Linked DNA regions of Homo sapiens: regions 1, 2, 3, 4, 5 and 7 are each linked to region 6. The links are contacts of gene promoters, found by promoter capture Hi-C in human tissues and cell types (Jung and others, 2019). All regions are on one chromosome and are shown on one strand. The core of a region is centred on a gene start or on the middle of the fragment in contact, and the rest is flanking DNA. Distances in the headings are between cores, read along the strand shown. Region 1 holds the start of TFEB (transcription factor EB). Region 2 holds the start of USP49 (ubiquitin specific peptidase 49). Region 3 overlaps UBR2 (ubiquitin protein ligase E3 component n-recognin 2). Region 4 overlaps UBR2 (ubiquitin protein ligase E3 component n-recognin 2). Region 5 has its middle 33 kb from the start of TRERF1. Region 6 holds the start of GUCA1B (guanylate cyclase activator 1B). Region 7 overlaps UBR2 (ubiquitin protein ligase E3 component n-recognin 2).

Region 1 (4,003 bases), core at 922-3,421, 460 kb before region 6:
GGACAAAATAACCCTGCAGCTGTAACAAGCCTTGTAAATGGTAAGCACCATTGGCTTCCCTCGGGGAGAAGCAGAGCATGGAGTCACCCAAACAGCTCTGCCCTTCATTTACACCCTCTGGCTCCCAGCTCTCCGGGCCCCGCGGCCAGGAGGCAGACGGAGAGAAGGGAGCCAGGCGAGTTGCTCGTGGTCCTGGGGCTGGGGTCACCGGCATGGTGAAAGCATACCGTCAGGTTAGCAGGCAGGGACCTCAAGGCAGCTGACCCTTCCCTTCCTCTGCCTCTGCCTCTCCTGGCCGGCCAGGAACTATTGCTGGCTGTCCCTCCCCGGACAGTGAGCTCCCTGAGGGGAGGGCCTGAGGACTGTCTCCCAGTCGTGGCACCAAGAACTGCGTTCTAACCGAGCGCATCCGCATCTGTCCACCCAGAAGGAAACCAGAGACCAGCCTCCAACCTCATCCCCAGCTGCCCAACAGTGCCAGGTCTGGGCCAATGGAATCTCGGCCAGGGCGGGTGCAGGGGCCTGAGGCCACACCCCAGAGGTGTCACTGGGGGCCTGCATCCGTCTTGTCCCTTTCCCTGAGGGATGAAGCAGCCCCTCACTCGGGATGGGGGGAGGGCAGAGGATGGGAGCTGGGCAGTAATTAACCTGCACTTCCCCAGCGAGCTCTAAGCCAAAAACTGCGCTCAAGTTGAGTGCAGAAGCTCCGCGCTGAACCGTCCCCAGAACAGACAGGCGAGAGAACGACGGCTGGAGCTGAGGGGGGTTCGGGGGAAGGCGCAGCGGCCAGGGGCTGGCGGAGAGCGGAGGGCGGGGGCCTGGGCCCAGCGGGGTTCGCGCAGACAAGCCCCGCCCCGGGCTCCCTCCCTTCCTCACCCGGGGCGCGGGGCTGGGGCGCGCCAGGCGGCTGCGGCGCGAACCTGCTCGCGCAGCCCGGAGCAGCTCGGGGCAGCCGTGCGTGAAGCCGGAACCCCGCGCGGGGAGGGGGCCGAGCTGGCATCTGCCCGCTCCCTTCCAGGAGGCGAGCGGACGCGCTGGGCCAGAGCTGGTCGGGACAGCCCAGGGGTGGGCGGCACGGACTCGGGGGATCGGGGGGAAGGGGGCGTGTTTTCCGGGATTCGGGACCGAGACGGGGGGAGGGGGAAACTCGGGGGGCGGGCAGGCAGCTGGGAACCCGGGGGGAGGCAGACAACGGGGCGCACGGAGGGAGCGCTCCGGGGTTGGTGTTCCCCAGGGTCATAGAATAACCCACGGGGAGAAAGAGACTGCCCAGGGACTCGAGGGGACGGGGCCAGGGGCGGCTTCTTCAAGAGACCGAGCTGGAGGAAGGGACGGGAAGGGAGGGAGAGATGGTACTTCCACCCGCCCCCCCATCAGCCCAGCCCCCGGGGCGTGGCGCCGCTCTGGCCCTCCCACTCCCCCCGCTGGCCTGGCCAGACTCAGCCCCCGCACACCTCCCCTACCTCCGACCCCCTCTCAGGCATCGCCGGCCCCAGCCGTGTCCGGTGGAGGGGGAGTGGGCGCGGGGCCCGCGCGTCCCTCAAACTTCTTGCGAGTTCACCATCACGCCTCCCGCCCCTTCGACTCCCAGCTCCGGGCCGGGAAGGCCCATGCCCGCCCGGCCCCTCCCGCCCGGTTACATAAGGTCGCGGAGAAGCCGCCCCCGGCCCGCGCCTGAAGGGAGGGGCCGAGGGGGCTCCCGGCTCGGCGGGCAGCGCCGCTCGGGCCACGCGCTGGGCGCCCGGGGGCGGACGGACTGCGGGTGGGTGGCGGCGCGCACGGTCCTGCTTCCCTCTCCTGCCGGCATCCCCCACCCTCCCACCTGTCTCCGGGACCCACGGGATAGGGGCCAGGGAGCCTGGGTCGGGGGTCCCGGGCCCTCCTCGTGCCTCTCGCTCCCCGGTCCCGCTCACCTCGCTCTGAAGGTCAATCTGTCCGCCGCCCGCGCCCCGCGGCTCCGGCAACTTGTCGCAAGTTCGGGTGCCTGGCCCGCAAGCTGTGCCCGCCACCTGCTCCCGGCCTGCTCCGGCCCCGTGCCACCAGGGAGGCCCGCCCCGTCCGCCCTTCCCGCCGCCGTCGGCGCCGCGGCCGCTCCCTGCGTCCCGCCCGGGCCGCCGCCTCCGCTGTCACCGAGCCCCGCGCCCGGCGCCCGGGCTCCGGCTGTCACTCCACGCACACTTCCCTCCGCGCCCGGCAGAGGGCAGCACCCGCCCCGCCTCCCAGCCGCTCTGCCTCGGCGCCCACTGGGAAGCGTAGTTCTCGCTGCAGTCCCGCTAGGCACGCCGGGATTTGTAGTCCCGCTCAGCGGACTAAGGCTTACAGGGAAAGAGGCTCTTGACTTGGAACCTCTGATCCACTTCTACCTCTTTGCAAGTTTTCTTTCTCCTCTCAGTAAAGTCCCAAACCAGGGCTCACTAAGATACATTCTGTAGCCTGTCCGACCCCCTAAAAGGAACCTGCAGCCTGCTGTCCTTCGGCAGTCTAAGAAAGAGAGGGTCCCAGATGGTGTGCTGTTGCCATAGAAACTCCACCTGTGGCAAATTCCAGCTTCTCTTCAGGAGTAGGGTGCAGGACCTGGATCTTGCACTTTTATCCCTGCCCCGATCATAAGGGGCAAGGCCAGGGTGAGCCTGGCGAAGTACAGGGTAAAATATGACAGTAGAAGGCAGCCTGCCCCCATTATGGGTTCTACATTCACGCCCCACTCACCAGCCTGAGCTTGCTGTCATGTTGCTGGACAGAAATTGTCTGAGCTCCTTTCATGTCACCTTCCCTTGTTGGAAGTTCACAGGGTGCGGAGGCATCATTCTCTACTTTCTCCTCTTCCCCGCCCCTTTTTCCCTGTCTCCTCCCCCAGCCCCTCCCCTGCTTTTCTTCTCCTTCCCCTCCTCCTTTTCTTCCTCTCTCTCCTCCTTCCCCACATACAATGTTGCTCCTGGTTTCTGGATCTTTTGCTAAGAGGCTCCTGAGGAGGACAGGGATGAAGTCCAAAGGGACAAGATCCCTTGCTGAGTTGGTTCCAGCAAATAGGCTCGATTTCTCTGTGACTCAAGTAGGAACACTCTCCCCCGGCCCGCCACCCACCCACCCATGATGGCGCTACCACTGTCTTCCCTTTCCAGGGGAAAAGTATGAACTTTAAGCTCTGAGGGTTACAGAGCCCATCCCAAGCCATGCCTTAGGTCCCATTTCTCTTAGAATCACAGTGACCCACCAGGAAACCTTGTAGCCACTCAGGGAAAACTCCCTTCCAAAAACAACAGGATGACCAACATAAAGAAGAACTATTTATTATTAGAGAAAGTCCAGAGTCCAGAAAAAGAAGGCTGAATCCAGAGTGGAAAGACAGATACAATGCCCTAGGAGGGTGCAGGGTCAAGAGGAAGAGGGGAGCCCACGTGTCGAGGCAGCAAGTCTAGGCGGCAGTGGCAAAGCCTACTCTGTTGTTGCCCAAGTCGTAGACGGAATAGTAGGACCTGAGGAAGACATCCCCGAGGATCCACAGGGGCTGGCCGTTCTGGGAGGACAGGTAGGTGGGCTCGACTCCCACGGTGCAGTAGCCGTTGTTCTGCTCAACAAAGAAAGGCAGCACTCATTCATTTGTCCACACATGAGCTGGGCCCTGCTCAGCTCTGAGCCCTGGGCTGGGAGCACAAGTGCAGAGCTGAGGGAGCCAGGGTCTCTGCCTTGAGGGCTCATAGGCCAACTGAGCCACCAGAGCAGAGCGGGTGGGAGGATTTCTGGAACAGGTACATTCAGGCTGCCGTGGTCCTCAGCAGGGTCTCCTCTCCCCATGATGGGAAACTTCTCTTCCCACAGACCTCCCTCCTGCTCCCAATTTGGAGCAGATCAGCCTGGTGGTTAAACCTTGGAGCCAAACCAACTTGAATTCAAACCTTAGCTGTGTCGCCTTGAGTCAGTTACTCAACCTCTCTGAACCTCCAAGTTTTCATTTGTAAAACAGAAATGAGTATCTCCCTCATTAAATACTGTGACAATTAAA
Region 2 (3,954 bases), core at 909-3,408, 300 kb before region 6:
CTCCCTTTCTTTATGCCATTTTGTTAAATGGGTGAGTTACCAACTACAGCATGAAACGTCCCGCACAAAGCTAAAGGCAGCTCAGGAACTCAAAGCCCTCAGCTCTGATTTAATCTCTCCCCCAGTAAACTTCCTTGGTTGGTTATCTGCCTTTCTCTGAAATGATTTCTTAACATTCTCCAGCAACTGAAAACAATAAGCAGAAATCTGGTTGATTAATCAAAAGAAACAGATTCTCATCTTTCTCTATCCCAACAACAGTGCGTTCTCCATTGAAAATGAAAATGCTGTCCATAAAACACAGCCCAGCACTTGTCAGGTGCAACACTCCTACAACACTAAAACTATCACATCACACGAGTACACCCTAAATAAGCACACCCTTTCCCCGAATTATCACAACACTAGTGAAATGCAGAGGTTTTCAACACCCAGAGTTTATACTTTATCATCCATACAAGAAAAAAATCAAATCAAAATGAGTCTCATTTCTTCAAAGTGGACAGGAAAGTCAAATCAAAAGCAATGAAGGGTGGAAGCAGATTCAAGATTTCTTGAGAGAAAGAGGTTTCTGGAATTTCCTACTTTTAGGGACAAAAGGATTCACAGTTTCAACACACAGTTCTCTCCTCAACAAAGAATTCCTTTCCTGCACCCCCCACCTCTGCCCTTACTTTTTAGTCTTTACCCCTGTCTCTAGGTCCCCTTTCACTCACCATGGTTCCTCGTCTTCTGCACCAAAGGCTCTCTTACACTTGATCTTTCACTACAGCATTTCTGCCCTGACCCTTGCAGACCTTCTGGAGCAACTCCCCATAACACGCACATTCGATTCCCACCCCCCTGCAGTCTACCCCAGTTCTACATCCATCAGGACTCCCCCAGCTTCTCTTAGCCCCCTCTCTTCCCTTACTCCCCATCTCATCCTTTAAATTCTGGGGCCCATCTCTTCCTGCTCCTCTCACCATTTGCTTTTAGCCCTGTCTCTTTACCTCACTGTTTTCACCTTGGATCTTGCTGAACCTCTTCAATTAACGTAATTACCCAGTTATCCTTGTCCCAGATGGCCATCACTTCTTACACCCTAACTCTAGTCTCCTTTCAGCTCTTCTGGTCCCAGAATCGTCCTACAGACACCCATCTCTTATCTGTTTCCTTTCGCCCTTCCACCACACTCTTATTCCTGACTCCACCTGGTTCCAGTCCAGGTCTCATTTGCCCTCCCTCACTTTACAGAATTTACATCCATCGCCCACCCACTAACCCATTCCTTTCTCAGAACCTCGCCAGCAGTTCCCACCACACCGTTGGTCCCAGTCCTTCAGCTCATCTCGCTCCGCACTAGTTCACACCCTCGTCACGTCTGGCTCTTAATCACTCTCTCTTTCCTACTCCCAACTATTACCCCAGCTCTGCCCCTCCTTGTCTTCCACTTCCAACACTTACCCCGGTACCCCTCACCCCAACACCACCCGCTACGAAGATTTCCCCTTCAAACCCCTGCTCTTACACCTAACCCCAGGATCCCTTTCCCCAGCCCTAACCTCATTCCCTGCCCGGCTTCCTTAACGCCCACCCTGGCTTTTGCCTCCTTCCTATCTCCTTGGCTGGCTTTTTCTCACTCCTCCTCTCCCTGGCTTCTAACCCTTTCTCCCCTTAATCCTCCTCATCTCATTCTCAACCCGGTTCCCCTCATCGCCTCCAAGCCTTCCTTTCCCTCTCCCTTCAACGCTTTTGCCCCAACCCAGCCGTCGCCCACCCCGCCAAAATAAGGCGCCCGCGCGCCCCGACTCCCGGCTCTCGCCTCCCGCCGCCCCCGCCCCGGGCGCCCCCAGCCCGCCGGCGCCGCGGTCCCGCCCCCTGCCGCCGCTCCTCCCGCCCGCGAGGCGCGCGCTGCCTTTGTCGCCCCTCACCCGGTGTGTGAGGATTTTGCTTCTTTAAAGGGGAGGGCTAGTGAGCCGGAGACTCCTATCCCCGCCTCCGAGTCTTAGAATGGGCTCCCTGGCCGTCGCGGCCTCCCCGGCCCCCGTTCCCCCTACCCCCTGGAGCTACCCACTTTGCTGCCTCCCCACCTCCTCCGTCCCCTCCCCCGGCCCCCTCTATTTACCGCCATCATCAGCACGCGCGAGCTGTCACCAGGGCGCGAGACAACCGAACACGGCCCCGCCCCCTGCCCGTCTATTGGCCCGCCCGCTGGAGCCCCGCCCCTCAGGCCCTGCATTGCGCCAACGGCGCAGCGCTGGGCCGCGACCCCGGCACCGGCACCCGTTCCGAGGGTTCGCGCCGCAGGCGCAAAGTTTAGGGTCAGCCACAAACGCGCGGCCGCTTTGAGCCTGGCGTAAGGGGCGGCGGCGTAGGGGGACGTTGTGAATAGCTGGTCGAAGTTTGGTTGAAGCACAGGAGGGTAAATAAGAAGGTTTCCAGACAAAGAGACTCTTAAAGGTACAGACTCTTATGTCTGTCCCTCCTCCTTAAAGGGCCAGAGACGCTCCCGAGCCCATCTCCGCCCCCTTCTTCCCGGGGAACTGTAAAGGTATTTTACATGAGTTTCCCATACTCTTTTCGGTTCACCTTTAACACCTCTCCCCACTGCGAAGGACAAAGGCTTTCTCACTATCCCGTCCGTATGTTTTGTTTTATTCTGTTAAAAGACGTTATTTCTGTGTTGTTCCTAAAGCAGCAGCCCTCAAACCGTGGGGTTTCCGGAGGCAGCGTTTGCAAAAGTTACTATTGGCTCCCAGGCGGGTGAGCACGTGTCTGGCTTTTGCCACAGATGACCCAAGAGAGATTCAGCTGTTTTATGGAAATCCCCCACAAGTTAGAGGATCGCTGCCGGAACTGAAGAAGTTCAGCAGATTGTAAGGCTTGGGAAATAAACCAGACTGACTTGGTAGTGGTCCATTGGGAAACAGAACAGCACCTAAGCTACAAAAGGCTTAGGTTAAGCAGTCTCCTAGGTGCACTGTCTTGAAACTACTTGCGGGGTGGTAGTGGGGGGAGGGGATGGGAGTCTCCCAAAATAAGATCAACAATTTCAACACCCAACACATAGCTAAGGCAGATAAAGACTTACATTTAAATATAAGGACAAGTAAAAGAAACAGACATTAGCTATAGTAGTGGCTCAAGTTACACACCTGTAAACAGGAGAACTAGGTAAGCACAAAAAAAAAAAAAAGAACACCACACACAATAGGAAGGGGGAAACTACAATGCCTGGACCAAGCGCTGTGTAGGCAATTTATTAACAACTTGCACTTTTAAAAGAGGTTTGATAGAAGGAGAGGAAGTGGAGTGTTTCAATTTGGTTTGGTCGGGATTTATCATGAGGTTCAAGGCCTCAGAGTTAGATTCAGAATTTAGCTCTCCCTTTGTCGTCCATCACAGTTAACATAATTCTTTTTAAGGAATTCTTAACATTATAACTCTAATTATATGTCTTATTCCCTTACTCAACAATCCCCAAGAAAATTCTTGGAGAAGAAAGATTGTTACTTATTCAATGTTAGTTCCATAACAAGGTGCTTTTGCTGAGTGAAGAATTTGGGAGCCACTTAAAACTTCCAATGGAAGGGATGCTCCCAGAATAGCAATACAGGAGGAAAAGTTTCTCAGTGATGTGAGCATGTATTAGATCAGTGTTCTCAAAAATGTGGCCTGGAGGCCGGGCACGGTGGCTCACGCCTGTAATCCCAGCACTTTGGGAGGCCAAGGCAGGTGGATCATGAGGTCAGGAGATCAAGACCAGCCTGGCCAACATGGTGAAACTCCGTCTCTACTAAAAATACAAAAATTATCCGGACGTGGTGGCGTGTGCCTGTAATCCCAGCTACTCAGGAGGCTGAGGCAGGAGAATTGCTTGAACCAGGGAGTTGGAGGTTGCAGTGAGCTGAGATCGTGCCACAGCACTCCAGCCTGGCAACGGAGTGAGACTCCATCTCAAAAAAAAAAAAA
Region 3 (4,046 bases), core at 1,153-3,652, 440 kb after region 6:
TTGATGCCTTTTTGGAATTACTAAAATGTATGCAGGTATGTAAAAACTGTTACACTTTTCTTTTTCCTTTTTTTTTTTTCTCTTTTCTCTTTTTTTTTTTTTTTTTAATTTTTCTTTTTCTTTTTAAGAGATGGGGGTCTCACTGTGTTGCCCAGGGTGGAGTGTAGTGGCTAGTCATAGACACAACCATAGTGTACTATACCTTTGAACTCCTGGTCTCTGGCAGTTCTCCTGCCTCAGCCTCCAAAGTTGCCTGGGACTAGAGGCGCAGGCACGGGCCCAGGCCCAGCTTCTTTGTTGTTGTTGTTGTTGTTGTTGTTGTTGTTCATTGAAATGAACAGCTTTCTGTCTGCGCATCTTTTCATTTCGTGCACATTTCCAAAAGATCAATTTGGATGGCTGCAATTCTGACCAGGAAGCTCCTCTTTAATTGGAAATTCTTAGAAAGGTATGGAGCAAAGGAGATCCCAGCAAACATTCCGGCATCTACTGCTCTTGGGTTTTTTCTGTGTTGGTTTTTTTTGTTTTGTTTTGTTTATGAGATGGAGTCTCACTCTGTCGCCCAGGCTGGAGTGCAGTGGCGCAATCTCAGCTCACTGCAATCTCCACCTCCAGAGTTCAAGTGAATATCCTGCCTCAGCCTCTCAAACAGCTGGAATTACAGGTATACACCACCACACCAGCTAATTTTTTGTATTTTTAATAGAGATAGGGTTTCACCAAGTTGTCCAGGCTGGTCTCGAACTCCTGACCTCAAGTGATCCACCCACCTCAACCTCCCAGAGTGCTGGGATTACCGGCATGAGCCACCGCACCTGGCCAGTTTTTGGGGTTGTTTTTTTGTTTGTTTTTTGTTTTGTTTTGTTTTGTTTTGTTTGAGACATAGTTTTTCACTCTGTTGCCCAGGCTGGAGTACAATGGCACAATCCTGGCTCACTGCAACCTCCGCCTCCTGGGTTCAAGTGATTCTCTGACCTCAGCTTTTTGAGTAGCTGGGATTACAGGCACCTGCCACCATGCCTGGCTATTTTTTGTATTTTTAGTAGAGACGAGGTTTCACCAAGTTGTCCAGGCTGATTTCAAACTGCTGACCTCAAGTGATCCGCCCACCTCGGCCTCCCAATGTGCTGGGATTACAGGCATGAGCCACTGCGCCAGCCACTTTTATATTTCTTTGGTTTCCACTAATGTTCTTTCTTTAGAGGTTACAAGTTTATTTTTTTAATATGCTTTCTTGGAAGTATAGTCAAGTTATTTGAGAAACTGTAGTGGTTTTTGATTTTGCTTTTTAATGTTTCCATGTTTCTTTTTCTCTCCTTCATGTGGTATTTATATAATACAGTGTAGACCTTTTTCCCCTGTTTAATTCTCTTTTTAGGAAACATCCCTATATACAAAACAGAATCTAGAAGTAGAAACGAACAGGTATATTTAACCAGTTATAACTGTAAGAAGATAGGTGACGTCTCTAAAAATCTGAGCAAGTACTATTATGATTTCTTTAGTAGCCACCTGGCTTTCTTAAGAAAAGGAATGACCAAAGTTGACTTACCATTTTTATTTTTATTTGTTTGAATTTATTTTTATTTATTTATTTATTTTGGAGGTGGAGGTTTGCTCTATCGCCCAGGCGGGAGTGCAGTGGCGCGATCTTGGCTCACTGCAACCTCTGCCTCCCAGGTTCAAGCAATTCTTCTGCCTCAGCCTCCCGAGTAGCTGGGATTACAGGTGCACGCCACCACACCTAGCTCATTTTTGTATTGTTAGTAGAGACAGGGTTTCGCCATGTTGGCCAGGCTGGTCTTGAATTCCTGACCTCAAGTGATCCACCCGCCTCGGCCTCCCAAAGTGCTGGGATTACAGGCGTGGGCCACCATGTCTGGCCTGACTTACCATTCTAGTTCCTAGGTTGGGTGGTAGTTCATGGGTGTTTATTATAATACTACTATGTTTTTCATGTATCTGTGAAAACAATAGCTACTTTGGTCATTTTTGATACTTGAAGTATTCTGTATTCTCTATTGTTTAATAAGTTCTGACATACTAGAATAGTTAGGCTAGTTTCTGAACAGTAATTTTAATTAAAAGCTATTTATTGTTTTGCCTTCTTTCAGGCTCTGTGAAAACTTCTAATTGCATATTAGGACATAATATTAAAACTTTATTATAAAATACAGTTATAAATTCAATAACATTTTAAAAGCTTGTCACATTTCTTTTAACAATTTTTTCTATAGACCATAGAGCTAAAAAGGAAGGATTATTGCAGTGAAATATTGAAGTATTTTATTGCCTAAAACAGATCTTAGATGATACCTCTGAAATAATGTGTTTATTGGGATTTCTAAATTTATATTTTAGAGAATGTTATATAAACACATAATTTTAAAAGCTATTATTTCTCATAGTACTTGAAGTTTCCTGTTAAAACTTATACCTTCTATGTTTTTATAATCAATATATATTTCTCCTACATTACTTCTTAGGTTTCCATATAAAAGAACAACTATTATTTTCATTCATATATAATTTTTTCACTTCCGTTAAGGGAATGGATCCAATTACACGTCAAGTAGGACAACATATTGAAATGGAACCAGAGTGGGAAGCAGCCTTCACACTACAAATGAAATTAACACATGTCATTTCAATGATGCAGGACTGGTGTGCTTCAGATGTGAGTTTCTTCTGGGTGCGGGGAATAGGAGGAAAGTGGAAGAGGGAGGAATAAGCAGAATCCTAAGTAAATTTCAAGGAGATCTGGAGAAAATAGTGGTGATACTTAGTTCATTAAACAGCGTATTTTCCTTCTCCACCTATAAACTCAGTAAAATTTTAAAATTCTACAGCCTGAGGAAAAACTTGAAAAATAGAGAAAGAAATAATCCAGATTGTCTCTTCCCTAATGTAACTATCTTTGTTTTTTTTCCATAATCCCTTCTAGACTTTGAGGATATAAAAATGGTAGTTTCTAAATTTATTCAAAAATAAAGTTTTATTATTGGTACATTTGTCCTGTGTCTTAAAATTATTTTGGCCTTCCTTTGGCGATAAAGTCTAGATGAGAGCCTGTATACATTATGAGGTTAGGGAGGTTTCTGTAAGGTCTGAACAATCTGTAAAAGTTAATGGAACAATGAGTAAATGATATTCCTGACTGAGAAGACAGCTGCATTATAGTCTGTGATGACAGGGACTAGGGTAGTCCTAGGAGCTATAGAAAGGTCTGTGGTTGGAGCACAGAAGTAGAGAACAGAGATTTGGGCACAGGAGTGATTTTTCGGGGCCTTGGCCATGGTTGTTTTTTTTTTTGTTTTTTTTTTTTTTGAGACACAGCTTACTCTGTTGCCCAGGCCAGAGTGCAGTGGTGCAATCCCGGCTCACTGCAGCCTCAACCTCCCTGGGCTTAGGTGATCCTCCCACCTCAGCCTCCCAAGTAGCTGGGACAACAGGCACACACCACCACACCTGGCTAATTTTTCTATTTTTTGTAGAGACAGGGCTTCGCCGTGTTACCCAGGCTGGTCTTGAATTCCTGGGCTCAAGCGATCTGCTTGCCTCGGCCTCCCAAAGTCTTGGAATTACCAGCGTGAGCCACCACACTCAGCCTGCATTTTATTTGAATTGAAGTGGGAAGCCTTTAGAGATTACCATCTCTCTATTAAATTCCCTGCTTCAACTCTTGCCCCCTTTATCCATTTTCCATACAGTGACATGATTCAATTTACATGTTTTTTAAAATTGCTCTGTATGGAGAATGGATGAAGGGGGCAAGAGTCAAAGCAGGAATTTAATAGAGAGACGCTTGGCAATGCCTTGGAGTTACTAGAGATAGAGAAAAGTAGCAAGTTTTGAGAGAAACTTAGAAGATGAAGTTGCCAGCTTGGTAATAGATTGGACAATGGGGAATGGGGGAAAGGAGGGTATTGGAATAACTTCTAGATTTCTGCACTATATGAGTAAATGTATCATTCACTGAGATGAGGGACACTGGAAGAGGGACCAAATTTGGGAGGGAGGATTGAGTTTGGTTTTGCCTATATTGT
Region 4 (4,194 bases), core at 231-2,730, 400 kb after region 6:
AAATTGAGGAAGAAGAGGTAAAAACATTTTCACAAAGTTGTTTTTAACCCAAGTTTGAAATATTTTGAGAAATAGTCATTAGATGATGTGAGAAATGGATAAGCAAATAGTACTTCCACTATTGACAGTGACTAGTTTACTTTGAAAGTTCTTTGCATTTTGTGGATGCTGTACGGTTGCTAATAGTACACAGTTGAAATTTGGGAAATTTCATTTAATTCTGATTTTTTATTTGGTTGGGGTTTTGTTTTAAGCATACTTGAAGTTTATTTGAGTACTAACCTATGGTTGAGAGGATTATTTTTCCCATATGTGTAGACCAGTTAACCAAGTTGAGTTTTGTATATCTTTATTATAACAAAGACTTTTGGGGCCAGATAGCTTTCTTTTCTGTTACCATACATGACAGCCAATCCCAATCATCATCTCCTGGTTTCCATTATCATTGGTTATGTGATGGGACCATGTGTAGTGATGATAGCTCAGTACAAATAATTCCCACTGCTTACTGTGTTTTTCAAATTGTTGATCCTGCATTATTTTTCTTAAATGGATTTGTAATGGAATAGTAGAGTCCCACAAAATAAATGCTTAAATCTCTGCTGCTTTTTTTAAAACTTCAAAAACTTTCCATATATTTCTAATAACTCACTTAACTGTAATTATACAATGATTAAATCTTTCAATGGTATGCTACAATAGATTATGTTTTATTATTTTTAATTGACAATAATTGTACATATTTATGGGGTACAGCGTGATATTTATGGGGCACAGTGTGATATTTTGATACATATATACAATGTGTAATGAGCAAATCAGGGTAATTAACATATCCATCACCTCAAGCATTTAACATTATTTGGTTTTGGAAACCTTCACCATCCGCTCTTCTAGCTATTTGAAAATATACAGTAAATTGTTAATTATAGTCATGCTATAGTGCTGTAGAACATTAGAACTCATTCTTTCTATCTAGCTTTGTTCTTGTATCCGTTAGCCAACCTGTGGCAGTCCCTCTTCTGCTACATTTTATGACAATTTGTTGTATAGTTCAAGATCCTTCTTTCAGATTTTATTTTTAAATGGCAGGGGAATAGGTACACTCAAGTACGTCTACATTGTTAGTAGGCCTGATATAGATTTGGGGCAAGTGGACATCAATAGTCCTTCCTCAGCCAGGCAAGGTGGCTCATACCTATAATACCAATACTTTGGGAAGCCAAGGCGGGTGGATCACTTTAACCCAGGAGTTTGAGACCAGCCTGGGCAAATGGCAAAACCCCATCCCTACAAAAAATACAAAAATTAGTTGGGTGTTGTGGCACGTGCCTGTGGTCCCAGCCACTTGGGTTGGGGGTGCTGAAGTGGGATCCGCTTGAGCCATAGGAGGCAGAGGTTGCAGCAAGCCAAGATCATGACCCTGTCTTTAAAAAAAAAAAAAAAAAAGTTCTTCCTGGTACCCATATCCTACAGGTCTCAAATATATTTTATCAGAATGACCAAAGCTTTTGATGTACAAATCAAAATTTATACAAAATGATTCAGTGCTATGGAAAACATGTTTTGTTTTTCATTTGCTTTGTGAAAGGGTTCTGTAATTTGCTACAGTAAGATGCCAAGTGGTCAAGGTTCCAGATTTTTCCACTTCTATTGGAGAAGCTCCATTTTTATATAGTTGATTGGGGTTCTGTATGTAGAAATACAGGACAAATAAAGATATATTTGAAAAAAAAGAATTGTGCTTTAGAAAAAGGTTAAAAACCACTGGTATAAAACTTTAGGACTGCAGGAGAAAGTATATGTGTGTATATCCAAGCCATGTATCCAAAAAGGATCTAGTATGCAGAGTTTATATCTTACAACTCAGCAAGTAAAAAGATAACCCAATTTAAAAATGGGCAAAAGACTTGAATAGACATTTTTACAGAGAAGATATATGAATAATCAACAAACACATGAAAAGATGCTGAACATCATTAGTCATTAGGGAAATGCAAAATCAAAACCACAGTGAGATACTGCTTCACCCTCAGTAAGATGACTATTAAAGTAATAACAAGTATTGACAAGGATATAGAGAAATTAGAACCCTTGTATATTGCTAGTGGAAATATAAAATGATTCAGTGCTGTGGAAAACAGTTTGGCTGTTCCTCAAAATATTAAACATTACCGTATATTTCACACCTAGATATATACCCAAAAGAACTGAAAACCGAAGTTGAGCAAGTACATGCACACACATGTTGTAGCAATGTTGTTCACAATAGTCAAAAGGTAGAAACAGCCCAAATGTCCATCAGTGAATGAATGGATAAACAAATTGTGATAATATACATACAATGGAATATTTTTCGTCCATAAAAAGGAATGAAGAACTGATACATGCTACAACATGCATGAACCTCTAAAACATATTAAGTGAAAGACGCTAGACTCAAAAGGTCACATATTGTATGATTCCTTTTATATGAAATATTCAGAATAGGTAAATCTGTAGAGAGAAAAAACAGATTGGTAGTTGCCAGGGGCTGGGGAAGAGGAAAATGGAGAGAAATGGCTTAGTAGGTAAGGGGTTTTACTTTGGAGTGATGGAAATGTTTTGGAACTAGATTGTAGTAGTTGCACGTTATAATAAATGTACCAAGTACCACTGAGTTGTTCACTTTAAAATGGTTAATTTTATGTTCTGTAAATGTCATGTCATTTATTTGGAAAAGATACTTTAGGACTTCTGTTACCTTTTTTATCCCTGTGTTAGAGTAGACTTAAAATAATTTTCTAATGAAAAGTTTTGAATCTGCCTACATTTGCTCTGTTGGCTTTATCCTCATACATTAGTGGGATGGCTATCCAACAGTCCAAGCTCTACTTAATTTCCTGAATTTTAAGAAGACACCAGCAAGCTCCCCTGCCTAGCCAAAAGTCATACAATCCTGCCTGGAGAATGTATACTCCTGGAACTAGACAAAGAATAAAGCCTTCCAAACTCTACCATTTAATTTATATTTAAGAGTTTAATTAAGGCCAGGCGCGGTGACTCATGCTGTAATCCCAGCCCTATGGGAGGTCGAGGTGGGCAGATCACTTGACCCCAGGAGTTCAAGACAAGCCTGGGCAACATGGCAAATCCCCGTCTATACAAAAATTACAAAAATTAGCCAGGTATGGTGGCGTGCACCTGTAGTCCCGGCTATTCAGGAGGCTGAGGTAAGGGGATCACCAAAGCCAGGGGAGATTGAGGATGCAGTGAGCCATGATTGTACCACTGCCCTCCAGCCTTGGGCGACAGAGTGAGACTCTGTCTCCAAAAAAAAAAAAAAGTTTAAGAGAAATGAAGTCAGCCAGGCGTGGTGGCTGACACCTGTAATCCCAGCACTTTGGGAGGCTGAGGCAGGCAGATCACCTGAGGTCAGGAGTTCGAGACCAGCTTGGTCTCGAACATGGAGAAACCCCGTCTCTACTAAAAATACAAAATTAGCCGGGCGTGGTGGCACATGCCTGTAATCCCAGCTACTTGGGAGGCTGAGGCAAGAGAATCGCTTGAACCCGAGAGGCAGAAGTTGTGGTGAGCCAAGATTGCGCCATTGCACTCCAGCCTGGACAAGAACGAAACTCCATCTCAAAAACCAAAAAAAAAAAGAGAAATGAAGTCTTCAAGGGTATTAAGATAGCATTTTGTTTAACATACCTGTTCCCAGTAACTGTTGAACATAATTTTTTTGTCATACATTTAGCCTACATCTTCCGAAAAAGCTGGGGGAAACCTGGTGATATAGAAATGCTATGCAGGAGTTCCACAGGTCTTCTCATCTCTTTGCATTTGGGGGTGAGATATTTCTTCATTGTATAGGACAGGGTTCAGCAAGCTCTGACTCCTACAAGCCAAATCTTGTCCACAACCTGTTCTTGTGTCTGTTTTTAAATAGTTGAAAAAAATCAACAGAATTGTATTTTGTGACATGAGAAAATTATATGAAATCCAAATTTTAGTGTCCATAAATAAAATGTTATTGAAGCACAGTCATGCTTAAATTTTAACGTAGTATTTGTAGTTGTTTTCCCATTACAAACAAAATTGAGTAGTTGCAGCAGAGACCCTATAGCCTGCTAAGACTAAAGTACTATCTCCTTTACAGAAAAAGTTTGTTGACCCTAGGTGTAGGCTACTGAAAGCATTGTGTTTCGCCTA
Region 5 (3,835 bases), core at 480-2,979, 290 kb after region 6:
TTGCCATCCAAAAATTCATTCTTCCCTGCTTTTTAGTAACAGAATCCCAATTATTCAGGGTGGCAAACAACCACATAAAAATTGCATTTTCTAATCTCCCTTGCCAAGTACAGTAACGTCAATACATTCTGATCAATAAGATGTTAAGTTCTTGGCAGGGCACAGTGGCTCATGCCTGTAATTCCAGCACTTTGGGAGGCTGAGGTGGGCAGATCACTTGAGGTCAGGAGCTCAAGACCAGCCTGTCCAACATGGTGAAACCCCATCTCTACTAAAAATGCAAAAATTAGCCGGGTGTGGTGGTGCCCGCCTGTAATCCCAGCTACGTGGGAGGCTGAGGCAGAAGAATTGCTAGAACCCGGGAGGAGGAGGATGCAGTGAGCCAAGATTGTGCCACTGCACTCCAGCCTGGGTGGCAGAGCAAGACTCCATCTGAAAAAAAAAAAAAGATATAAGTTCTAAAAAACATTAGAACTTACAGGAAGATTGCTTAAGGGGAGCAGATTCTTCAGGAAGGCCGGACATTTTGTCCTCTCCTGCTTTCACACTCCTGCTGCCTGAGGTGAAGAGGGATGAAGAAAGGAGCTAAGAAAGCTGTCTTGGACCATCGGGTAAACTTCAGGATGGAAGCCACTGACTAAGAACAATGGAGGAGAAAGATGGAACGAGCCCAGTATCCAATGGCTTTGTAGAGCCACTCTTACATTCCCGGACTATCTCCTCTAGACTTCTTTTCTGTAAATGAATAAGCCTTTTATGTTTAAGCCATTGTTGTTTAATATAGTCAAACCCACTTCTTCTCTCGTCCATCTCCTTAAGGGCAGACCAGCTTGTTAAATCATGGTGTCTCCAGCAGTGTCAGATATAGTACATGATAAATTCTAAACAGCTATTTGTTAAAGCTTGAAAATGTTTTCCTTCTGACCTAAAACAGCTCTCATCCTGATTAATAATAGAATTGCTCTCTTTAAAATTATGTCCATTGATCTGATATTCCAATTTCAAAAGTTCACATTTTTCAACTTTTGGAAATCTAGAAAAAGTGCCACGAGCTCTCATAATCATGCCATGGTTGACTTCAAAGAATGTAAAAGTTTCTCCTGTCATCTAGATGAGGAACTGAAGGGAATCACCACTGATGCCTACAGCACCCACAGGGGTAATTTTCAGAGGCTGCTGCTGAATGTCCTGTCTGTCAAATGTCACATATCTGCTCCTCACAGCTGGAGGAAAAATTATGGTTTCTGATGCTGTGCCTTCCAGATCTTCTGTAAATGTTTCTCATTGGCAGAATCTTTCCTGGGATCTACTGGCAAGGGATTTGGAGAAATATCTTTCCCAAGCTTCCAGCTCAGCTATCAGGATGCCTTTTTTTCCCCAATAAAAATAACTCTAACTCAATTTAGTTTAAATTATAATGAAATATTTTGGTTGTCATCACTACAATTCCAGAGGTAGTCAAGTTTAAGACTGATCCAGTATCTCTAGCTCTGTTTCCCTGCACTTCAGTTGGCCTGAACTTATTTGTGCACTGTCTTCATCCTCAGGTTGGTGTTAGGTTAGCTAGCATTCTAGGTCTTCCCACATTTCCAACCCCTGGAAAAGCTGATGTTCGGTCCCCAGAATGGTTGCTAACAGACAATCCAGCCCATCTGTTTCTCCCACTCTTCCTTATCAAGCATCAAATTCTATTACATGTCCACAATCACTCATCCCTAAATCCAGAAATCCAAAACACTCTGAACACCAAAAGATTTTTTTCTTAAGTTTGGTACAAACACAATTGGCAGCACAAACTGACCTGATATAAGACTACTCAGTTCAGTTCAGGTATTTATTCCATTTAGCGTGAATATCTACATGTTTTCTTTACAGAATAATCAAGTTGGATTACAAGGTATTGCCCTACACCCCAAAGAGGGCATTGAGTAATATATGGTAAAATTACAATATTATTTATCTAATATCCAAACATTCTGTGTGTGTGTGTGTGTGTGTGTGTGTGTGTGTGTGTCAGGTTCTCACTCTGTCACTGAGGCTGGAGTGCAGTGGCACAATCATGGCTTACTGTAGCCTCAACCTCCCCGGCTCAGGCAATCCTCCCACCTCAACCTTTTGAGTAGCTGGGACTGTAGGCATGTGCCACCATGCCAGGCTAATTGTTTGATTTTTTGTAAAGATGGGGTCTCGCTATGTTGCCAGGACTGGTCTCTGATTCCTAGGCTCAAACAATCCTCCCACCTAGGCCTCTCAAAGTGTTGGATTACAGGCATGAGTCACCACACAAGGCCCCAAAATTCTGAGTTTCAAAACACACTGGGTCCTAAAAGTTTCAGATAAAGGATTGCAGACTTTTAGAACAATTCATTCCCTATGTTCCCTATGGCACACTGACAAAATGGAATCTTTATGTGTTTATTTTAAATTATATTTATGAAAGAGTTCTTTTTTTTTTTTTTTTTTTTTGAGATGGGGTCTGACTCTTGTTGCCCAGGTTGGAGTATAGTGGTACGATTCTGCCTCCTGGGTTCAAGCGATTCTCCTGCCTCAGCCTCCCCAGTAGCTGGGATTACAGGCACCCACCACCACACCCAGCTAATTTTTTGTATTTTTAGTAAAGACAGGGTTTAGCCATGTAGTCCAGGCTGGTCTCGAACTCCTGACCTCAGGTGATCCACCCGCCTCGGCCTCCCAAAGTGCTGGGATTACAGGAGTGAGCCACCGCACCCAGCCAAAAGAGCTCTAATATAGCAAAATAGTTATGTTATAACATTATGTGAAAAAAATGATACAAACCTACATTTTACATATATATGTATATATATATGTATATATATGTGTATATATGTATATATATGTGTATATATGTATATATATGTATATGTGTATATATATGTGTATATATATATGTGTATATATATGTGTATATATATATGTGTATATATATGTGTATATATATATGTGTATATATATGTGTATATATATATGTATATATATATGTGTGTATATATATATATATATAATTTTTTTTTTTTGAGACTGAGTCTCACTCTGTTGCCATGTTTGAGTGCCGTGGGACGATCTCGGCTCACTGCAACCTCCGCTTCCTGGGTTCAAGCAATTCTCTTGCCTCAGCCTCTGAGTAGCTGAGATCACAGACACATACCACCACGTCTAGCTAATTTTTGTATTTTTAGTAGAGACAGGGTTTCACCATGTTGCCCAGGATGGTCTCGACCTCTTGACCTCATGATCTGCCCGCCTCAGCCTCCCAAAGTGCTGGGATTACAGGCGTAAGCCACCACACCGGCCATATTTTTATTTTATTATTTAATATGAAATATTCTATTCAGTACAATATTTTTATTTTTAAATATATATTTATTTTAATGTGCATATTACACATATCAAAATGTATACTAAAAGTCTAAAAGCAAATATTGCATAATTTTTTCCCAGCTTTATTAAGGTATAACTGACAAATAAAAATCATATGTATTTACAGTGTGCACTGTGATATTTTGATATATGTGAGCATTTTGAAAGTATTAAATCCAGCTAATTAACATATCTCTCACCTCACATGCTTTTTTGTGGTGAGAACATTGAAAATCTACTCTCTTAGCAATTTTTAAGGATACATCCATTATTATTAACTATAGTTACCATGAAACATAGCATCAATTTTATCAGTAGTTCTTAACTTTAGCTCTTTGGCTACAGGTCCCTTTGAGAATCTAATGAGAACACTCGAAGTGACTTTTGCTTTTTGCTTCCTTTTGGTTGTCTAGCATCCAACCCCTCTTCCTATTTTAGGGGAATCCTTCACTAGGTG
Region 6 (3,981 bases), core at 1,349-3,848:
AAAAAAAAAAAAAAAAAAAAAAAGAGAGAAAAGAAAAGAAAAGAAAAGAAAAAGGAAAAAAGAAAGAAACCTGGCCGGGTGCAGTGGCTCATGCCTGTAATTCCAGCACTCTGGGAGGCCGGGGTGGGCAAATCACTTCAGGTCAGGAGTTCGACACCAGTCTGGTCAACATGGTGAAACCCCGTTTCTACTAAAAATACAAAAATTAGCCAGGCATGGGAGTGTGCACCTGTAATCCTAGCTACTCAGGAGGATGAGTCATGAGAATTGCTTGAACTCAGGAGGTGGAGATTGCAGTGAGCTGAGATTGTGCCACTGCACTCTAGCCTGGGCAACATGGCGAGACCTCATCTCTACCAACATAAATAAATAAATAATACAAAAATTAGCAGGCATGGTGGTGCACACCTGTAATCCCAGCTACTTGAGAGGTTGAGGTGGGAGGATCCCTTGAGCCTGGGAAATCAGAGGCCGCAAAGAGCTGAAATCATGCCACTGGGTGACAGAGCGAGACTCTGTCTCAAAAACAAAAAAGAAAATACACACTGAAATACTTAGGGATAAACGGGCATGATATCTATAGCTTTCTCTTAAAAAAAGTATATGTATAAATTATGTATCATGTATATGTATATATACTTATAGGATACATTATATATATGTATGTATACAGAGAGAGGCAGAATGATAAAGTAAATGATATAAAATGTGAATAACTGGGGAAATTTGGATAAATTGCATATGGGAGTTACTTGTATCATTCTTATAACTCTTCTGTAAATTTAGAATCATAGTAAAATTAAAAAGTTATTCAAAAAGGAAAAAACATTGATGAACATCATATGCCGATTTATAAGAAGAGATGAGGTATAAGGAGTACAACTATATGCCTAGGGGCTTAATCAGCCCTTTGGATCTTGAATCATGATCGTATTGATTTTTAGATGAATCTGGGGAAGATTGATGGACTTAAATGAGTCTTATTATTTATGACCTGATATATTTGTTTACTTTTCTTACATTTTAAAAAAACATCAATTATTTTAAAAAGTCATCTTCTCTCTTTAAAAAACCTGCCTTCTAGGCAGGAGCACTTAAGACCTTGGGCAAATCGATTCATTCCCTTTTGCCCAGCTTTCTCATCATTTAATTTGGAATAACAAAAGTCTGCCCCTCCCACCCAGGGTTGCTGCTGATTCAGAGGAGACCTAAGAGAGGCGGAGCGCTGAGAAGTCCGAAACTGGCTCTGTGCCCTGTGGGGTGGTCGATGGGGTTCATCTCTAAGGAGGTTCTGTTGAATTGAAGGTGCTGACCTCACCCTCCTGTCCCGGGACAGGCACTGTGGGGACGTGCACTGACTGGTACCAGCGACAGGATGAGACCTGAAGTGGCATTCCCAGTGATTCAGCTTAGAAAGCTAAGTTCTCCACGCACTGAGGAATGGAGAACTGACACTTTCTTCAGATTAAATTGGTATTTGAGGCAAATACCAGGGCATTTGAGGTATTTGAGGTATTTGAGGATTGCCAGGGCACTGAACTGGATAACCTTAAATAATCAAGGGGTTTTTAACTGAATTGAAATTTAAAATTCAATCCCCTGGTGCATTTACAAGATGTGTTATCTTCTTAGCTGCTAGTGACATTGTGGGCTTAGAGAAACTCTAGTCTGAATGATTTAATGAAACCTTCCAGGACTTGAAGAGCTGAAAGGGGCTTTTGCAGTCATTCGCCCAGTCTCCCAATACATGCAGGAGCCTCTTCCAGCATTCTTGACAGGGAGGATCTGACCAGTCTCAGAAGAACCCCAACAAGAGGGAGCTCATAGCCCATGCTAAGATACCTTGTCTCATTTAGAACATCTCTTTTGCTCCTAGTGTTTAGAGTGACAGGGGCTCTGGCAGATGCGAAAACCCGGTCATTGGGCTGCAGAGTCTTGGTCAAAAATACACAAAGAGAGGACCTGGACTGTCTGCCAGTCGCCCTTCAGCTCTCAAGAAGAGGACACAGGGAGCATCAGCCGACAGCTAAGAGATGGAGGGAGGGAAGGAGAGACAGAGAAGATGGAAAGGGACAAAAGGAAGAGAAGAGACAGAAGGGTTTGGTGAGTGAGACAGAAAAGGTAAAGAGAGACGGAGTGGAAAGAAGAGCAGAGAAAGAGCCGAGGAGTGGGGAACTGGGAGCTCTCCCTGAGGACACTTGTGGAGGAAGGCGCCAGGTGGACTGGCCACTGGTCCTTCCCTTCAGGGTGCCTTACCCCATTCTTGTCGAAGGCTCGGAACATGCCCTCTACATACTGGGAGGCCTCCTCATCGTCTGTGACCTTGAAGAAGCGCTTAAACTCATGCATAAAGAGTGTGCCGCTGGGGCACTCCATCACAAACTTCTTGTACCACTCCTGGAGCTCCGCCACATCTATCTCGCCAGCTGCCTCCGCCTCCTCCCAGCTAAACTCCTGCCCCATGCTAGCCCTGAGGAGCATCAGGGAGCAAGGGTCTGTATCTCCTCCCTGGCTTCTGCTGATGGATCTCTCCAACTAGGGCCCTCTTCCTCCCTTTCCAGGAGGCCTGATCAGCCTCTCCATCATCTCCTGGGTGACTGAACATGATCAGTCGGTGCAGGGGGCAGGTGGCAAGGGAGGTGGGTCCAGGCCAGCTAAGCTGCCCTAAGACTATTAGAAGATTCCCCAGGTGGCCGGGTGCGGTGGCTCATGCCTGTAATCCCAGCACTTTGGGAGGCCGAGGTGGGTGGATCACAAGGTCAGGAGTTCGAGACCAGCCTGGCCAACATGGTGAAATCCTGTCTCTACTAAAAATACAAAAAATTAGCTGGGCATGGTGGTGGGTACCTGTAATCCCAGCTATTCAGGAGGCTGAGGCAGGAGAATCACTTGAACCTGGGAGATAGAGGTTGCAGTGAGCTGCGATCACACCACTGCACTCCAGCCTGGGGGACAGAGTGAGACTCTGTCTCAAAAAAAAAAAAAAAAAAAAAAAAAGAGATTCCCCAGGAAGTTCTGACCTCCAGCCTAAACTCCTCCAGCCTCACTCCTTCCCTTAGCCTTGTCAACAAAGCAACCAAGCTGGCCCTGGTAGACTCTGAAGAGGTAGAAGGGGAAGAAACTGAGAGGTAAGCAGAGAGATGCAGAGTGAAGAAAGAGTCGGGGTGCTAGGCTGGGATCCTCCCATCTCACTCACTCCCTATCTCTTTAGCTGGGCCTCACATTGCTTCAGGGAGGCCCATCTTGGAGACAGGAGACTCAAATCCAGAGAGGAAGTGAGATCAAGTCCTAGGCCATAAAACAGAATCTGCTGGTGATCTGGGACTCGCCCCTCAGACGGTCTAGTGAAAAGAGGCAGAATCTATGATGGGAAGGGCTCTAGGTGAGCAACTCTCTTCCCAGGCTAACTCGGTCCCTGAAGCTCCTTTCCAGATTACACCTTTCATCTTGGGAGCTTTTCACTTTCTGATTTAAACTACAAATGCCTCCCTCCAACCCTTCACACAAGACCTAGGGGTAGTGCCTTTTTCACATTTCCTCCAAAATACTAACATGTGAGAAGGATCTGGGAGCATGGCCTAAAATATCTTTGAAGGCTCTTACTTTTACATTATAGGTCATGTAAAATTTGCTTTTGAACAATTACATATTCATGCTTATTTTAATGTAACATAAAAATGACACCTCCAAGAAATCAAAAGACCAGGGACACACATTTTTCTTTTTCTTTGCTTTTTTTTTTTAAATTTCTATTTTTTGAGACAGGGTCTCGCTCTGTCGCCCAGGCTGGAGTGCAGTGGTGTGATCTCGGCTCACTGCAACTTCCGCCTCCGGGTTCAAGTGATTCTCATGCCTCAGCCTCCCGAGCAGCTGGGATTACAGGTGCACACCACAACACCCAGCTATTTTTTCTTCTTTTTTTTTTTTTTATTATACTTTAAGTTCTAGGGTACATGTGCACAACATACAGGTTTGTTACAT
Region 7 (4,302 bases), core at 508-3,007, 460 kb after region 6:
GCGGGCAGATCGCTTGAGCTCAGGAGTTCGAGATCAGCCTGGCCAACATGTTGAAATCCCATGTCTACTAAAAATACAAAAATTAGCCAGGCATGGTGTCATGCACTTCTCGTCCCAGCTACTCAGGAGGCTGAGATAGGAGGATCACTTGAGCCCAGGAGGTCAAGACTGCAGTGAGCTATGATTGCACCACTGCATTCCAGCTTGGATGATGGGAGTGAGACCGTATCTCAAAAAAAAAAAAAAAATCTGCCTTTTAGCAGTCTCCTCTTAAAATGGTTTTTCAATAAACAGCATTAAATAAAACTTAAACATAAAGCTTTTATTTAGTTTTTGATGAAGTCATAGAGTTCAAACTTAAATAAGTTTGTACTTATTTAAGTACATGTTTCCCTTCTAATTTAAAGTAATAGAGAACTCGTTTGGAGATTCTTTTAGTTAAAAAAAAAAATTAACCTTGATGTATCCGTTTGGGGGAGGACTAGAACTTAAAGATAGATATCTTTTTTATTTTTTATTTTTTTTGAGATAGGGTCTCACTCTGTTACCCAGGCTGGAGTGCAGACCTCGGCTCACTAGAGCCCCTGCCTCCCAGGTTCAAGCAATTATCCTGCCCCAGCCTTCTGAGTAGCTAGGATTACAGGTGTGTGCCACCACGCCCAGCCAATTTTTGTATTTTTAGTAGAGATGGGGATTCTCCGCGTTGGCCAGGCTGCTCTCGAACTCCTGACCTCAGGTGATCCACCTGTCTTGGCCTCCCAAAGTGCTGGGATTACAGGTGTGAGCTGCCACGCCCCGGCCTCTGTTGTGTTATTTTCTGATTTTAGATGTTCATCCTTGGCCAGACACATTGGCTCATGCCTGTAATCCCAGCACTTTGGGAGGTTGAGGTGGGCAGATCACAAGGTCAGGAGTTCAAGACCAGCCTGGCCAACATAGTGAAACCCCACCTCTACTAAAAATATAAAAATTAACCAGGTGTGGTGGTGGGCATTACTAATTCCCGGTCCAAATAACTTTATTTTTTATTAGGCAGAAGAAGCGCAACGGAAATTGAAAAGACAAAATAGAGAAGATACAGGTATTTTTAATCTTTCTGAAAATGTCTTGCCCATCTTTTTTGCTTGTTAAACATTGTTTTCTGTTAACTATGATGATTGTCCTTGGTGGAATGAATATTTAAATGTAAGCTTTCCTAGTGAATAACCTCCTATTCAGAGGAATAATAAATATGTTAACACAGAAATAGTTTGTGCTAAGTCCTCTGGGTTGATGTTATCTCAGATCTTAAGACCTTTCTAGGGGAAAAGATAGACTTTCTTCTGTACTGCTGCTACTTTCGTGGCTCTTTTTATGCATTTGACCTTGAGAATGTAAAATAATAGCTTTAAGGTGTGTGTTAATGAATATTCTTTGAGTTAAAACTATCAAAAGTAACAAAGAGATAGTTTCTAAAGCATGTTCTGTAAAAGAAACCAATAATAACAACTGTATTTTCAGCACTCCCACCTCCGGTGTTGCCTCCATTCTGCCCTCTGTTTGCAAGCCTGGTTAACATTTTGCAGTCAGATGTCATGTTGTGCATCATGGGAACAATTCTGCAATGGGCTGTGGAACATAATGGATATGCCTGGTCAGAGTCCATGCTGCAAAGGGTAGGTTTGAAGACATTTATTATTTATATTTTAGTATTTTATAGTACAAGCAAAATATTCTTGTCTGTATCTATACACAGGAAAACTAGGCCGAAATGTATTGTGTTTTCCTAACTTGAATATATTGTTACTGCTTTTGTGTCTGACAGTAAAAACAAGTGCCAGACAGATTTTTTTATACCACATGGTTGTTATTACCTCAGTCCCACTGGGCAGTTGTTCTCTCCTAGATTGGTCCTTGTCTTTATATATGTAGTATTCTGATATTGATATAATGTGTTATCTTTTATATATGTTTCTAATCTAATTATTTTCCAAAACAAAAATTTTTTTTGAATCATCCATATCCTTATTTTGTAGTTGAAGAAACTGACACTCATAGACTTACGGTCCTATAGCTAGTTAAGTGGCAAGTCTGGAACCTTGTTTGTGTTATTTTTGTTTTTGTGTTTTTGAGACAGGATCTAGCTTTGTCACCCAGGAAGCTGGAGTGCAGTGGTGCAATCTTGGCTCACTGCAACCTCTGCCTCCTGGGTTCAAGTGATCCCGCCACCTCAGTATCCCAAGTACCTGGGATTACAGGCATGCATCACAACATCTGCGTAATTTCTGTATTTTTGGTAGAAACAGTTTTGCCATGTTCCCCAGGCTGGTCTCAAACTCCCAGACTCAAGCAATCCTCCCCCCTCGGCCTCCCCAAGTATTGGGATTACATGCGTGAGCCACTATGCCCAGCCCCTTGTTTGTATTTTACTTTATAGTTTTAATGTAAGCCGTTCGTACACTATCTCATTGAATTCACACAACACCCCATGAATAGATACAACTTTTTTCTCATTGTTAGATGAGGAAGCCAAGTTTCAATGAGGTTCCATTAACTTCCCATATTAATCTACTAAGTGATATAACAATTATTCATTAAATAGAATGCCTACTTTATGCCTTATTCCATGCTAAGCCCTTTTTTTTTTTTTTTTTTTTTTTTTTTTGAGACAGTTTTGCTCTTGTCACCCAGGCTGGAGTACAATGGTGTGATCTTGGCTCACTGCAACTTCTGCCTCCCGGGTTCAAGCAATTCTCCTGCCTCAGCCTCCCAAGTAGTTGGGAGTACAGGTGCCTGTCACGAAGCCCAGCTAATTTTTTGTATTTTTAGTAGAGACAGGGTTTCACCACGTTGGCCAGGCTAGTCTCGAACTCCCAGCGTCAGGTGATCCACTCACCTTGGCCTCCCAAAGTGCTAGGATTACAAGGCGTGAGCCACCGTGCCTGGCCATGCTAAGCACTCTGCATACAGTATTTGTAATCCTCAGAACTCTAGAGGGAAGCTTTGTTTTTCCAAGGCTAAAGATGATGACTTGGGCTCAGAGGCGTTCCCTTAGGGTATATATTAATAGCTTGAAAGCAGTAAAACCAGGATTCAGATTCAAATTTTGGAGCCCTCCTCGGGAGGCTGAGTAGCTATCATTCTTTCTTTTTGTCTCACTGGCTAAGATGTGTGTATTCTTATAATGCCCTCCTATTTATCTATAAGCATATTTAAAGTGTAAAAGCATGGAGCTGTGGTGTACTAGCTCACTACTAGTACAGCTGTACTAGCTGTCGTGTACTGTCAGCATTACATGAACAAAAGATTTGTGGGAAATAATGGAGAGAAGAGGTGTGAACAATATTTACCTTACATGTACACTTGCTTTATGTCACCTAGTTCTTCCAAGTCTCTGACAACCACAGTCATCCCATGTGAAGGGAAAGATACAGAGACATCACACACATATCTCCTTCAAAATCTGGGGTGTGGGCCCGGCACAGTGGCTCACCCCTGTAATCCTAACACTTTGGGAGGCCAAGGCGGGTAGATCACTTGGGGTCGGGAGTTCAAGACCAGCCTGTACAACATGGTAAAACCCCATCTCTACTAAAAATAAAAAAATTAGCCAATCGTCATGGCACATGCTTATAATCCCAGCTACTCAGGAGGGCTCAGGAGAATCACTGGAAACTGGGAGGCAGAGGTTGCAGTGAGCCAATATTGTGCCACTGCACTCTAGCCTGGGCAACAGAGGGAGACTCCGTCTCAAAAAACAAAAAAACTTGGGCATGGGATAAGAGCAGTAAAAAAACAAATAGGTTGATACAGTCTCTAGAAGTCTGGTCAGGAATATTTTGTGAGATACACTGAAGAACTATAAAGTTTATAAATGATAAGGCATTAGAGATAAAAGTTTGTCTTTCTCAGATGATGAAGATTTAGTCCTTAGAGAAATTAGGTAGTGTCATAGACTGGATAATTACATGGGGGATACGTTTAGCTTTATAATTACTTGACCACTAATTCTTGGAAGGTTTTTTTAAGTCTGTAGTATAGGTATAGAATAAAACTTACATATTATGTGAATTGCTGGTCACAGCTGGTGTAATTTTAGCTTACCCTGAGGATTTGCAATTGAAATTTCTTCCTCATTGAAGTAGAAAATTTTGTTTTTCTTGACAATAATTGTTTGTTAGAAAATAAACCTCAGTCTTTTCATTTAATAAAAATTAGTACTTCAAGGCCGGGCATGGTGGCTCACGCCTTTAATCCCAGCACTTTGGGAGGCCAAGGTGGGCGGATCACTTGAGGTCAGGAGTTCAAGACCAGCCTGGCCAA

What was found. The method cuts DNA at HindIII sites, captures the fragments that hold promoters and counts their contacts. A contact is called where the count stands out against the background at its distance.
Region 1: the fragment with the promoter of TFEB here is called in contact with the fragment with the promoter of GUCA1B in region 6 in 2 of the 25 tissues and cell types used here (pancreas and spleen).
Region 2: the fragment with the promoter of USP49 here is called in contact with the fragment with the promoter of GUCA1B in region 6 in 1 of the 25 tissues and cell types used here (mesenchymal stem cells).
Region 3: a contact is called between a fragment that was not itself captured here and the fragment with the promoter of GUCA1B in region 6, in 1 of the 25 tissues and cell types used here (H1 embryonic stem cells).
Region 4: a contact is called between a fragment that was not itself captured here and the fragment with the promoter of GUCA1B in region 6, in 4 of the 25 tissues and cell types used here (IMR-90 fibroblasts, dorsolateral prefrontal cortex, hippocampus and 1 more).
Region 5: a fragment that was not itself captured here is called in contact with the fragment with the promoter of GUCA1B in region 6 in 2 of the 25 tissues and cell types used here (mesenchymal stem cells and spleen).
Region 7: a contact is called between a fragment that was not itself captured here and the fragment with the promoter of GUCA1B in region 6, in 2 of the 25 tissues and cell types used here (lymphoblastoid cells and thymus).

What each region holds. Positions count from the first base shown.
Region 1 is chr6:41,733,437-41,737,439 of GRCh38, forward strand. TFEB (transcription factor EB) reads right to left here and starts at 2,172. Exons shown (of 9, transcript NM_001271944.2): 1 at 1,914-2,172. PGC (progastricsin) reads right to left here. Exons shown (of 9, transcript NM_002630.4): 9 at 3,275-3,568. The coding sequence ends at 3,416. MIR10398 (microRNA 10398) reads right to left here and starts at 174; the gene lies at 118-174. RefSeq lists enhancers at 1-64, 1-70 and silencers at 721-1,160, 1,291-1,820, 1,861-2,330. The HindIII fragment of the contact is 30,918 bases long and covers 1-4,003 here.
Region 2 is chr6:41,893,217-41,897,170 of GRCh38, forward strand. USP49 (ubiquitin specific peptidase 49) reads right to left here and starts at 2,159. Exons shown (of 8, transcript NM_001286554.2): 1 at 2,108-2,159. RefSeq lists enhancers at 918-1,432, 2,367-2,556 and silencers at 1,997-2,236, 2,025-2,317. The HindIII fragment of the contact is 16,047 bases long and covers 1-3,954 here.
Region 3 is chr6:42,632,870-42,636,915 of GRCh38, forward strand. UBR2 (ubiquitin protein ligase E3 component n-recognin 2) reads left to right here. Exons shown (of 47, transcript NM_001363705.2): 13 at 1-35; 14 at 2,549-2,677. Among named protein-coding and RNA genes, the nearest start is that of UBR2, 71 kb to the left of the region's middle. The HindIII fragment of the contact is 3,846 bases long and covers 480-4,046 here.
Region 4 is chr6:42,594,288-42,598,481 of GRCh38, forward strand. It overlaps UBR2 (ubiquitin protein ligase E3 component n-recognin 2), which reads left to right. Exons shown (of 47, transcript NM_001363705.2): 4 at 1-17. Among named protein-coding and RNA genes, the nearest start is that of UBR2, 32 kb to the left of the region's middle. The HindIII fragment of the contact is 7,676 bases long and covers 1-4,194 here.
Region 5 is chr6:42,483,271-42,487,105 of GRCh38, forward strand. No RefSeq gene overlaps it. Among named protein-coding and RNA genes, the nearest start is that of TRERF1, 33 kb to the left of the region's middle. The HindIII fragment of the contact is 5,855 bases long and covers 1-3,835 here.
Region 6 is chr6:42,192,358-42,196,338 of GRCh38, forward strand. GUCA1B (guanylate cyclase activator 1B) reads right to left here and starts at 2,599. Exons shown (of 4, transcript NM_002098.6): 1 at 2,257-2,599. The coding sequence starts at 2,463. The HindIII fragment of the contact is 9,949 bases long and covers 1-3,981 here.
Region 7 is chr6:42,650,991-42,655,292 of GRCh38, forward strand. It overlaps UBR2 (ubiquitin protein ligase E3 component n-recognin 2), which reads left to right. Exons shown (of 47, transcript NM_001363705.2): 24 at 1,033-1,081; 25 at 1,501-1,655. Among named protein-coding and RNA genes, the nearest start is that of PRPH2, 69 kb to the right of the region's middle. The HindIII fragment of the contact is 4,700 bases long and covers 1-4,107 here.